2 separate regions of the Homo sapiens genome follow, and region 2 is linked to region 1. Evidence: promoter capture Hi-C in human tissues and cell types (Jung and others, 2019). All regions are on one chromosome and are shown on one strand. Each heading gives the region's core, a stretch centred on a gene start or on the middle of the fragment in contact. The rest is flanking DNA. Distances are from core to core; before and after follow the strand shown. Region 1 holds the start of PSMC1 (proteasome 26S subunit, ATPase 1). Region 2 overlaps TTC7B (tetratricopeptide repeat domain 7B).

What was found. Contacts are between HindIII fragments. The study calls those that stand out against the background at their distance.
Region 2: a fragment that was not itself captured here is called in contact with the fragment with the promoter of PSMC1 in region 1 in 2 of the 25 tissues and cell types used here (pancreas and small bowel).

What each region holds. Positions count from the first base shown.
Region 1 is chr14:90,251,824-90,257,985 of GRCh38, reverse strand. It overlaps PSMC1 (proteasome 26S subunit, ATPase 1), which reads right to left and starts at 1,433. Exons shown (of 11, transcript NM_002802.3): 1 at 1,386-1,433. The coding sequence starts at 1,388. RefSeq lists enhancers at 730-1,257, 1,143-1,382, 1,258-1,787. The HindIII fragment of the contact is 25,675 bases long and covers 1-6,162 here.
Region 2 is chr14:90,701,022-90,707,183 of GRCh38, reverse strand. The region is part of intron 5 of TTC7B (tetratricopeptide repeat domain 7B); the gene reads left to right. Among named protein-coding and RNA genes, the nearest start is that of TTC7B-AS2, 6.8 kb to the right of the region's middle. The HindIII fragment of the contact is 4,066 bases long and covers 529-4,594 here.

The sequences.
Region 1 (6,162 bases), core at 184-2,683:
CCTCGAGGGAACTGTTGTAATAAATGAGAAAATGCTGGAAAAGTACTTGGTACATGCTTAGAATACTACCCAGAAATCCGTATAAGACCTCTATGAGGCCGGGCGCGGTGGCTCACGCCTGTAATCCCAACACTTTGGGAGGCCGAGGCGGGCGGATCATAAGGTCAGGAGTTCAGGACCAGCCTGGCCAACAGAGTGAAACGCCGTCTCTACAAAAATACAAAAATTAGCCGGGCGTAGTGGCGGGCGCCTATAGTCGCAGCTACTTGGAAGGCTAAGGCAGGAGAATCGCTTGAACCCGGGAGGCGGAGATCGCGCCACTGCACTCCAGCCTGGACGACAGACCAAGACTCCGTCTCAAAAAAATAAAAATTAAAATTAAAATAAAAAAGACCTCTATGAGATCTGGCCTTCTTGCCGTTCATGATACAGGTTAAACATTCCCATCTCAGGTCCTTTGCACTTGCTGTATCTTCTGCCTTGACCACATTTCCCTCAGACATCTGCAGGGGTTACTCCCTCAATTTCGGTCCGCTCAAATTTCACCTCCTCAGAGCTACCTTCGCTGACTCTATAAAAAGCAGCCACTCCTCCAAGCTATCCCTTTCTATACAATAACCATACAACAATGACCACCCCACCCCTGACATCATATTACATATTTCTGATGATTGTCTGCCTTCTGCTCTAGAATGTACGCACTATGAAGGCAGGGACTTCAATCAATCCTCAGTGTCTACAACAGAAGCTAGCCAAAAGTTTAACAACAACAACAAAACACCAAGTGCTCAGTAAATACTTGTTTAGTGAATTGATGAATAAATGCTAGCTGTTTTTATTATTACTACTGCACCACGGGCCCTTTCCGTCTTAGCTCCGCCTGTCATAACAACGTCTTTAAGGCCTCCTTCAAATGCCCCCAGCTCCGAAAGGCCTTCCACGACTCCGCGCTCAACTCCTCAGGTGGAATGAATCCCACCCTCTTCTCCAGCACCCTTCACCTGCCCGACTCAAAAAGCATTTTTCCCGGTGACTCGAGGAGGCGCCCCCGAAACTCCCAGCGCCGATCAGCAAAGCCCTGGTCGGCGGAGCAGCAAAGCCAGCGGCCTGATCCGTTCTGCCGCCCCACAAGACCACGCAGGAGACCCTCTCTCTGCTCTGAGCCCCGGCCCCAGGATCCCCGGGCAAGGCCCGTTGGTCGGCCCCGGCCCGCGGTGGACATGAGCGCGGTCTCTGGGAGCCTCCACCCGCCGAGAAGATCAGGCCGGCAAAAGGAGAAGAGGGCTGTCCCAGTTCCTCGGGCAGCCGCCTCTTTCTCTCGCCTCAGGCTGCTGAGACCCCATCGCACCGCGACGACCAGCGGAAAGAAACCCTTAGTCACTCACCATCTTGCCTTGGCCACTTGAGCTGCCGCTGCCGGAAGTTCCTCCACCACTGCGGCCCGCCAGAGGCGGAAGTCGTTAGGGACGCTACGGAAGCTGATAGGAACCAAATTCTGCGCTGACCAAGTTGTGCTCCAAGGGCTTGTGCGGGCGGTCTAGGGCAACGCAGCAGTTTATAAGCATAAAGTGAACTTTATAAATATTTTACTTGAAAGAAATTTTTGAATACCCGTTATGAGGCGCTTGTCAACAACTTAAGACAATGACCCCTACTGTCAAAGAATTAGGACAATCGTGAAAATATAAAATATTTAAATTATGCAAAATTTATAACTGGGAAGAACTTTATGGTTCTAAAAACTGGAATGGTATTTGGAACTGGGAAGTTGACATATACATTTGCACAAATATTTCAGTTATTATTCAGCTTCTGGAATTTAACCTGCACATCTGGGAGTATGTGTGTAACGAGTCTTCTAAACCTGTCTTTTTCTGATGACCTGTGACTTGTGATGATGCCAAATGTCTTAAATTCCTCATCTTGAAGCTGATTGGTAAAGTTCCTCATTTGTTACACCCTCCAGGACATCAGAAAAATGGCAACAATCCCTTCTGTTTCTGGAAATTTCATTAACAAGTGCTCAAAATACTGCATCTTTCTGAACTGGAGAAATGGATGATTTTTTTTCTGCTCCAGATTGATTTAGGGATTTTAGTTGTGAAACACTAAAAATATTTCCCTTATGAACACACAACAGGTATACTTCTTCCTTTTCATCATCACTGCAACACGGTAATAGAAAGTCTTAGCACTATCGACCTCTGTTAACAAATCTGGCATCTAGTGTACATGACACATGAAATCACACGATAGGACAGTATCACACATAGGATAGAGATGGTGAAACTCCCATCTCTACTAAAAATACAAAAATTAGTCGGGCATCATCGTGGGCATCTGTAATCCCAGCTGCTTGGGAGGTCGAGTCATGAGAATCTCTCGAACCTGGGAGGCGACGGTTGCAGTGAGATCACGCCCCTGCACTCCAGTCTAGGTGACAGAGCGAGACTCTGTCTCAAAAAAAAAAATTAATAAAAATTTAAAAAACAAAATAAATATCCTTTCCCTAATGCATTTTACAAGAAACAAGTAAATAGTAAAATATATAGTATGCCACATAGTGGTAAATGCCATAGGAAAAATTAATGCCTAGGAAAAATGCCTAGGATTAGGAGCATGCAGCAGTGGTGGGTGATTTTAACTTTAAATTGGATGATACTTGAGCAAAAGCCCGTAAGGCATGAAGGAGTAAGCTATTCAGATATCTGGTGGAAGAGCTTTCTAGGTAGAGGGAACAGCCAGGGCAGAGGCCCTGCAGTAGAAGCTGCAGAGGATGGAGATTAGAGACACCATATAGTGAAGAAGTCAGAAACAGGCACATAACTCCCAGTGGAAGCTCAGCGGTTAAAGGCGAGTCAATAGAACCCAGTAATGAAGAGAGTAGCCAACGTTGGCATCAGACTTTCCTATTGTGGCTGTAGGAAGTGACATAAAGTAAGCAGAAAATTTAAGTTTATCTACATAATGGACAGCTAAGAGAAAGCAGGGAGAGGATTAGAAAGACTACTTGGAGTGCTCAGCACTTGGGGAGGTTGGAAGTTGCAAGTGGAAAAGAGGGAGAGTTGCAGAGATGACTGTCAACCGGGTGGGGAGGATTGAGAGTCAGCCATAGGGCAAAAGAGATGCACAGGGGCTGGGCGCCGTGGCTCACGCCTGTAATCCCAGCACTTTGGGAGGCCGAGGCGGGTGGATCACCTGAGTTCAGGAGTTCAAGACCAACCTGACCAATATGGTGAAACCTCATGTCTACTGAAAATACAAAAATTAGCTGGGAGTGGTGGCAGATGCCTGTAATCTCAGGTACTCGGGAGGCTGAAACGGGACAATCGCTTGAACCTGGGAGGCGGAGGTTGCAGTTAGCCGAGATTGCGCCATTGCACTCCAGCCGGGGCGAAAAGAAGGAAAATCCATCTCAAAAAGAAAAAAAAAGAAAGTGACCATAAATGTAGTGCTCAAAGCTAGAAGGTCTCTGGGTTAGAAGTTCAACTTGGGTCTCACAGGGCTAAAATCAAGATACCAACAGGTTTCCTCTCCGGAGGCTCTGCTCTAGCTGTGTGACATCAGCAAGTCATCCTCATTTTCTCATCTGTATAACGGGATAATTATCTACCTTGCCGGCTGAGGATACGGAGAGGATAAAACTCTTGTTTTTTGATTCTTAAGAGATTTTTGCCAAAAGTAGATGGAATGGAGGCTGAGGTAGGAAGGTGTCCAAACGTGGACGGAGGGCTCATGCTAGGGTGGACAGAGGGGGCGGGGCCGGGGTGGACAGAGGGCAGGTGCCAGAGGCGAGCGTGCATCCTGTTCAGCAGCCCCCCTGCAACCTCAAGCACATCAGAACCAGCCCAGATGCTGACAAAATGCAGACTCTGGTGCCATCCGCCAGAGACTGTGATTCTATAGGCCCATGGCAGGGCCCAGACACCTGCATTTTAACAGATACCCCAAGGGATTCTGAGGCTGGGTGACTCATACACCACATTTTTAGAGCCGGAACTCCAGAACACTGGTCTGCAAAGCAGGGCAGCCACACCCTGGTGGCCCAGGGGCCCATTCGTGTGTTGGAAGAAGCCATCAGAATGACTTTTTATTTAAAAAATAAGAATAATTACTAATCAAACAGCCAAGGGGTTAACGCCAGGTCTCGTTTCCAGCCTTGTCACCAGTGAGCTGTGTTGTTGTGTCTCAGTTCTGTCGTCTGTGAAATAGGGACCTTTATAGTTCCTCCTTCATGGTGCCATTGTTTGAGGACTAAAGTAAAATGCTGAGAATTGCACTTGGCATAGGACAATTACTCTAGGTATCAGCTACTCTGATTATTATTATTATTTTGAGACAAGGTCTCATGCTGTTACCCAGACTGGAGTGCAGTGACAGAATCTTGGCTCATTGTAACCTCCACCCCCCAGGTTCAAGCGATTCTCCTGCCTCAGCCTCCCAAGTAGCTGGGATTACAGGCACCCGTCCCCATGCCCAGCTAATTTTTGTATTTTTAGCAGAGACGCGGTTTCACCATGCTGGCCAGGCTGGTCTCCAACTCCTGACCTCAAGTGATCCACCCACCTTGGCCTCCCAAAGTGCTGGGATGACAGGTGTGAGCCACCGCGCCTGGCCTTATTAGTATTTCTTGTTAATATACAAATTGCCATTGGCACACTCATTCTGTGCATATATTAGATGGTCCCGTATCCCATTCAAAATTTACAATCTCTTCGTAGAGTGGTACAGTGATCTTCAAACACATTTCTTCATGCATTCTCGAAAGTAATTTGCAAAATGTATTTCTTGATACATTTCTAGGTTAGCATCTAAATTTCATATAAGTTTAAATAGCTGCAAATGATCCACTTGCCAGGAAGTTTTAAGTATTGACATTTTAATGTATATACACAAAGGAATCTAACTATCATGATAGCTTGATATCTCATCCATTTCAAACTTATGTACGCAGGCTCTTTTCTAGCATTGAAAATATTTGCTTTCATCTCTTTTCCCTTTGAAGCGAATATTTCCATTCCATTTATCATGCATACTTTTATCCTAATATCATGTATGTTGAGGCTGGAAAACATTTTATTGATTGACCTCTCGCACATTTTTGCAAAAGTTTTATGTAAGTCAAAAATTTTTAATGTATTCTATTTTCTGTGTCTTTTGGGTCCTACATGCTAAAAATGTTTTCTGGATTTTGAATTATTATCAATTACCACTAGTACGCACTTGATCAAGATGATATACAGTTTGTGCTAAGTTAGTGTTCATTTCACCTACCCATGGATGGATATGACAATGTCAGAATGAGGCAGGATTCAGCACCAATTCTAGTCTCATTAGTTATTGTTTATAGATGTTTGGGCTGAGAATTCTCGTTCACATAAATGGGAAATGAAATAATTTTGTAATGAAAATGTCACACAATTCTTTCCAATCCTGTGTTCTAAACAGAAAATCACACAGTGATTGATCCACAAAATCTATTACTAATGATAACTTGAAATAAGTCTTCAATGTGTTTGCAAAGAACTAGAAAACATTGGAGGTGCAAAACAATTCAGTCACCAGTCATTAGGGTCATTCAGTTTCTTAGTTTCTGGGAAATGCACCCAAAAGGCTTTCCCACGACCTACCAAATACTATCCATGAAGACCTGTTACTCCTTCACTCAGAGTTTAAACCAATAGCCTGAAAAAGAACTGAAAAATCTTGACTATCGTTAATCTTATTATACCCCTGGAAATACAATTTTTTTTTTTTTTTGAGACAGGGTCTTGCTCTGTTGCCCAAGCTGGTGTGCAGTGGCATGATCTGGGCTCATTGCAACCTCCACCTCCCAGGTTCAAGCCATTCTCCTGCCTCAGCCTCATGAGTAGTTGGGACTACAGGCACCTGCCACCACGCCCGGCTAATTTTTGTATGTTTTGCAGAGACGAGGTTTCACCATCTTGGTCAGGCTGGTGTCAAACTCCTGACCTCAAGTGATCCACCCACCTCGGCCTCCCAAAGTGCTGGGTTTACAGGCGTGAGCCACCACACCCAGCCTGGAAAAACGACATTTTTCATACGATTTTAAAATCATAAGAATTTAAAAGTTAACCTTCTTTAGATATATTTTTGTCAAAACCATGGAGCAGCAGAGTTTTAGAGCATTCTATTTCTGAA
Region 2 (6,162 bases), core at 1,312-3,811, 450 kb before region 1:
ATTGATGGTGGTATTATTAGTATTATTCTGAAACTTCTCATATAACACGGAATAAAGCAACTGAGTAGTTATGGAATGTTCTAATTCCATCATCCCCTGTGTCCTTGAGAATGAATATTCTTGCTATGGAAGAAAGGAAAAAGCAGATTTAAGATAGAAGTAGTCTAGGAAAAACTGTAGTCCTGAATTTGAATAATCAAATTGGAAATATCAGTATGAAATCTGAGGTATTTGTGTCTATGTATGTGTGTGTATGTATATGCATGTGCATATACACACATATGTACATGTATGTGTGTATGTGTTTATATGTGAGAGAGAGAGTTCTCGCTAAGGTGACCGAACCATTAGCAGTGAACATCCCTAGCTCCTAGATTTGATCTTGAAGTATCAGCTTTCAATAAAAGAAACCTCATGCCAGTTCTGGGGCAGGAAATGTATAAGATGAGCCTGGAACACCTTTACCTACATCCGTATAGCGAAGAAGCTATCAAAGATTCCTAGGTCATTTTAAAAGGACTCGGGTCAAATATAGGATAGTTTGAATTTCAAGAAGGGTAAAAATTGCAATAGACTAATCAAATGAGCTTAAGTTCATGAGTTCTAATTCAGTATTTTGAAAACTAAGCAAATAAATGGAAAACATAAAACATTTTACTATGTGTACTAAGCCACTGGAAAGCCAAATATTAGATGAAACATCTTATAAAAATTATTCCAGGGCTGGGTGTGGTGGCTCACCCCTGTAATCCCAGCACTTTGGGAGGCTGAGGCGGGTGGATCATGAGGTCAGGAGATCGAGACCATCCTGGTTAACACAGTGAAACCCCATCTCTACTAAAAATACAAAAAAATTAGCCAGGTGTGGTGGCAGGTGCCTGTAGTCCCAGCTACTCAGGAGGCTGAGGCAGGAGAATGGTGTGAACCCGGGAGGTGGAGCTTGCAGTGAGCCGAGATTGCGCCACTGCACCCAGCCTGGGCAACAGAGCGAGACTCCATCTCAAAAAAAAAAAAAAAAAAAATTATTCCAGCTAATAAATGAAAATGCAGTGGGAGAATTAGAATGTCACCACTTAGTAACTCCCGGGAGATTGATGCTGAAAGTGTTGAATACCAAGGGCTGCTAATGTCAGAACAAGAGCACAACACTGCTGAAGTCTTGCCAAAGGGATCGACCCTGAATTGATCAAGCCTGCGGATCTAGCTGCCAAATTGCAGGAAATACAGAGAACAGAGGCATGTATTGAACTGTAGCATGAATGTGCAGTTTTCTAGCCAGTGGGAAACTCTATAGGCTGAACAGTTCAGGTTTTCTCTAGCAGATAAGTTGTAAGAAAAAGAGGTAGTGGGGAAGGTGTAAAGTAGGAGCGATTTTGAAGAATCGTCAAGTGAAAAAAAGTGGACAAGGCTATAGGGTAGGGATGCCTACGTGAGGAACAAAGCAATTAACCAGAAAAGTCAGGGTAGTTGTTACTTTTAGTTGGAGGGGGCTGTTCATTGGCATGTGGTGAATGGCGGTGTCTTTATTTTTTTTGGTGGTGGTTACATGGTGTGTGCCTTCTAATAGTCCCTTACGCCATACAATTGTTTTATATGGCTTTCGGTATCTATATTTTATCGAATAAAATATTAAGAAAGAATTGAGGGGGTCAATGAAATATGGGCTAGAACAGTACCCAGCAGAGGGCAGGGGAGGGAATCCCTGCCCTGGGAACCCAGAGGCCGGGTGGGAATCAGGTCCTGGCTCAGCCCCTCCTAGAGCTGTTGGGCCAGACTCCCTTCTTCTCTCTCTGGGACTCAGTTTCCCTCCTTATCAGTTGCGAGTAACGAATTCCTGCCTGTGTCACTAGGTTGGCTGGCAGATCATCTGGAATAATGAGTTGGGGAATGGCATGGAACCAGTTAGTGGTATCTCAGAAGAAGATGATGGCTGACCTTTCCTGGGCAGTGACTGTGACCTTTCATCCTCACAACAGCTACATGAGTAGGTGTGCAGCTGGATCATACTCCATCCTAGTGGGAGGGACCCAGTCTCTGTCCTGAAGAAGCCCAGTCTCTTGTGGGGACTTTCTTGATGAGAGAGTGAAATAATTTTAATTACCATGTCAGTGGTTTGTTAGTAAATGGCAGCTCCTCTGGATGGCTTAGAGGGGCTTGAAATAGCTTATTCCCCTGAGCAAATTAAATATTCTCCTCACAGATCATGTTTGCTCTGCTGATGTGCTTAGCAAAGCTTTTTCTTTTCTGTAGATAGAGCCAAGGTAAACCTGAGCTTCGCGTCGGAGTGAGTGAGTGTGAACTCTGACTGGGAAAGCCAAATAAATGAGGTGCTGTGCGATGAAAGAACTGACTTCAGAGGGTTGACTTCTGGTCAGAGCGTCTTCTGTGTTGTCGCCATCTTATCAATGTTAGTCTTTTTCCCCGACACCATCTTTCTTCTGAGTCCTGTTTCTGCTGTGAAGCTCAGACGCCTCAGCATAAATTCTCTGCTACCCCTTTGTCACCCACTCCCAGTGGGATCCCATCCCGTTCTTTGCAGCCAGATGTGTCTAGGTTCAGAGACTTCAGCTGGCCTGTGCCGCTGGGAGCCTTCCCAGGCTGCTCTCCTGTCCCTGGGATGCCTTTGTTTTGCGTCATAGGAGGTAGTCACATTTTCCAGTTTGACTGCAGGCTTCTGCACGACAGGGATCATCTTCACCTTCCCTTAGCACTGGCATCAGATAGGGCCTGAGTTCAAATCCCAGCTCTTCTGCTGTGGGCTGTGTGATCATGGGCATGTTCCCTGTTATTTCTAAGCCTGTGTTTCCTCATGTATAAAGCTACAATTGAGAAGAAGAGTTTGGTGTAGTACATCGTAGAAACCGGTTCAGATTCTGCACTGTTTTCTATTAAACCAAAGGTTCACAATCACACCAGTGGCTGCTTTTGGCTTTTAGCCAGTAAATGTTTGTATGTGGAATGAAGGGCCGGATGGTGGGACGTAGCAGCTGGTTGGGGAAAGGCGGAGGATTCACGTGTTTTTGAGCATGGAGTCAGAAGCTTTCCAGGTGCCATCTCATTGCATATGGCAAGTAGGTGTTAGTCCTATTTTGCAGATGAGGAAGAGACAAGGTGAAGCCCGTTGGCCAGTCCTTCCCCATCTCAGTGCATGCCTGGCATCTGGTACTTGTTCCCCTTGCCATGTTCCCAGATGGCTCACATTCCATGCTCACTTCCAGTCCTTCTTCTCATGAGCCTCCTCAACCTTTGCCCTTTTTGTCTTCTCTCCCCAGCAGATTTGCCTTTCCCAGGCCCAAGCGGGTTATCTGGTCCCACTCCTGAGAATGTGTGACAATCCCATCGGCACTGTGCTGCCTCAAACTGAGCAGCACTGCTTTGTTTCCCCAAGAAAAATATCAGAGGCTTTTATTTACCAATTTAATGGCAAAGAGCCTCCCTTCCCTGTTGAGTTTCTATGTTATGGTTTTGAACTGGAGGCCTGTAGGCTTGCGACGCCTGTCGTCCCACAGTCTGTCTTCACCCACCTCTGCTACCTGCTTGGCTTCTGCAGCCATTTGGACTGCTGACCCCTGCACATGTAATGGTCTTTTTTTTTCCCTTTCTTTCAAATGATCCCCTTGGATTTTTTTCTCACTGTTCTAGCTTTGAAATGTGGTCGCCAGAGTTGTGTTGGAAATGCAGTTCTCCTGTCAATTGAATGGAAGTGAACGTTGCACTCTTATCCTCACACTCGAACTTCCAGCTCAAGTGCTTGTGGTGCGTTTGGAGGGACTTTCCTCCCCTTGACATCCTTTCTGCCTTTTTTTCCTCTCCATAGCCCAGTCGAGGGGATGGACAGGGTGGCCAGAAGTTCTTTTCCTATGTGACTTTGCCACTCAGAATTGATGAATGAAGTCATTTTGTTAGCAGGACATTTTTACCTTCCAGATTGTCTTTTTTCTGCACTTTTCTGGACTATTAAAAACGAATATTGTTGGCCTGTGCCCATCAGTGTTCTGTGCAGCTAATTGAGCCCCGTCTTATGAAGCAGGCTGACGGGGACCCCGCCCTCATGCTTGTCTTCCAGCTCTGGCCAGGTCTGGAGCAGACACTTCCCCAGTGGAAGTGGCGAGCTTTCCTCTCCAGCTTTGTGTTATGGGCTCATAAAGCTTTAGTGGTTCACTTTTGAGTTCAAATTTTTTAGTGTGATCTGGCCCTTCTTGATGAACTCAGAACAGTCTCCACACGCTCACTGTGCTAAGTGTGATGGAGCAGTCAGGATTCACACCTGCCAGACACGCGGTCATCTGTCCGTGCCCCACCCCAAAGCCGTGGCTGGAGACTGTTCCCCTGCCCCCGTCAGGGGCACCAGCACTCTTAGGAGATGTCACATCATTTCCCAGGAGGGTGACCACAAGGCCCCAGAGAAAGTTTTTTACTGTTCTTACCTGACATGGGTTGTCTTTTGTCATTGTGAGCCAGACCTGGGAATTACATAGGGAGTTCCTGGGACATGGTAGACTTTCAGTAAATAGCAAAGAGGATCAATGAATCAAACTGGGGAATATCTTTTTTCCTTCAAAATTAAATGACTTCAAAGAAGTAAAGCAGATTTTCATATGCTATAAATTGACTGGAAAACAGATTCCAGAATTCCAAAAGTTTTTTTTTTTTAAAACAATGATAGAGTTTTGAGGCTAACAGAAGTAATAATGGCAAATACTTAAAAAGCACTTCCTACATTTACTGACTAGTTTAATTCTTACAACAAATCAATGAGGTGGATACAGTTGTTACTGACTAGTTTAATTCTTACGACAGTGAGGTGGGTACAGTTACTCAATGAGGTGGGTACAGTTGTTACTGACTAGTTTAATTCTTACAACAGTGAGGTGGGTACAGTTACCCAATGAGGGCAATACAGTTGTTACTGACTAGTTTAATTCTTACAGCAGTGAGGTGGGTATGGTTAAATGAGGTGGGTACAGTTGTTATTTCCATTTTATAAGGAAACTGTGGCACAGGCACTTGCCCAAGGTCAACAATTAATAAATGGCAAAGCTTGGACTTGAACTCATGCTGTCCGGCTCCAGGGTCTGTAACCATGACTCTATTTTGTCTCTTTACATTCGGGTATATAGATAAACATATGGATTCCCGGGTGAAGGACAATCCTTATATGATAGATAAGTTCGGATTGGTTTGTTTTAAGTATTATTAGGTTGAGGAGTCCAAGTGTGTTTGGATACCATTAGGGTTAAACTGAACATCATTAAAATACAAGTTCATGAGGACTCACGTCTGCTGACTGGCTTACCATTGCGTTCACTGTGCCTCACTTCTTAGTGCATAGTAGGTATGAGTGTTCTCTCTCTCTCTTTCCATATATATATATATATATATATATACACACACACACACATATACATATATACACATATATACACACACACACAGATATATATGGAGAGAGAAATATATATTTGTGTGTGTGTATATATATATATATATATACGTTTCTTTTGGAATGAGTACTGATATTCTTTGACTCATTCCCAGAGGTTGAAAGGAAGGATGTGAGATGGGGCAAGGCTTTCTACACTTCCTGTTTCTCAGAGACTCGGAGCTTAGGGGAGTGGAGGGGACAGGTGAAGGGCAGGCGAGTTGCTCTTCTGGCTGGGCTGTCAGAGCAGTCTGGCCACTTTTCATTCTTAGGCCTTGTGCACGCCTGTTGGAAGGACTTGTTTATGTGTTCCTGTCCTGGCCCCTGAAGTATGAACTCCAAGAAGCCACTCTCTGTGACTTCTTTGACTTTATGTGTCTGGTGCCACTTACACTGCCTGGGCCGTAGTCCCTACTCCCTGTACTGTGTGCTGCCTGGCCGGCTGACCAAATGTATAATTGACTCTGCTTTTGTCACGAGGAAGCCTCAATTGCTGAGGTAGTCCAAAAAATGTTGTTAAGCCCAGTACAGCTCTCATAAGGTTTGAGGTGAGACATCCGGAAGCCTCGCCTGCTTGTTCTCATCTCGGCGTGGATGGCTGTCACACCCTCCGTCACTATATCCAGGCTGCAGCTGGCTTGCTCCATGGGTAAGAGAGAGCCCTTCGCTAACGAGGCCAAGGTTGTGGGTTTGATCCCTGGCCCCTGACTGCAGCAAGCCATCTGTCTTCACAAATGCGT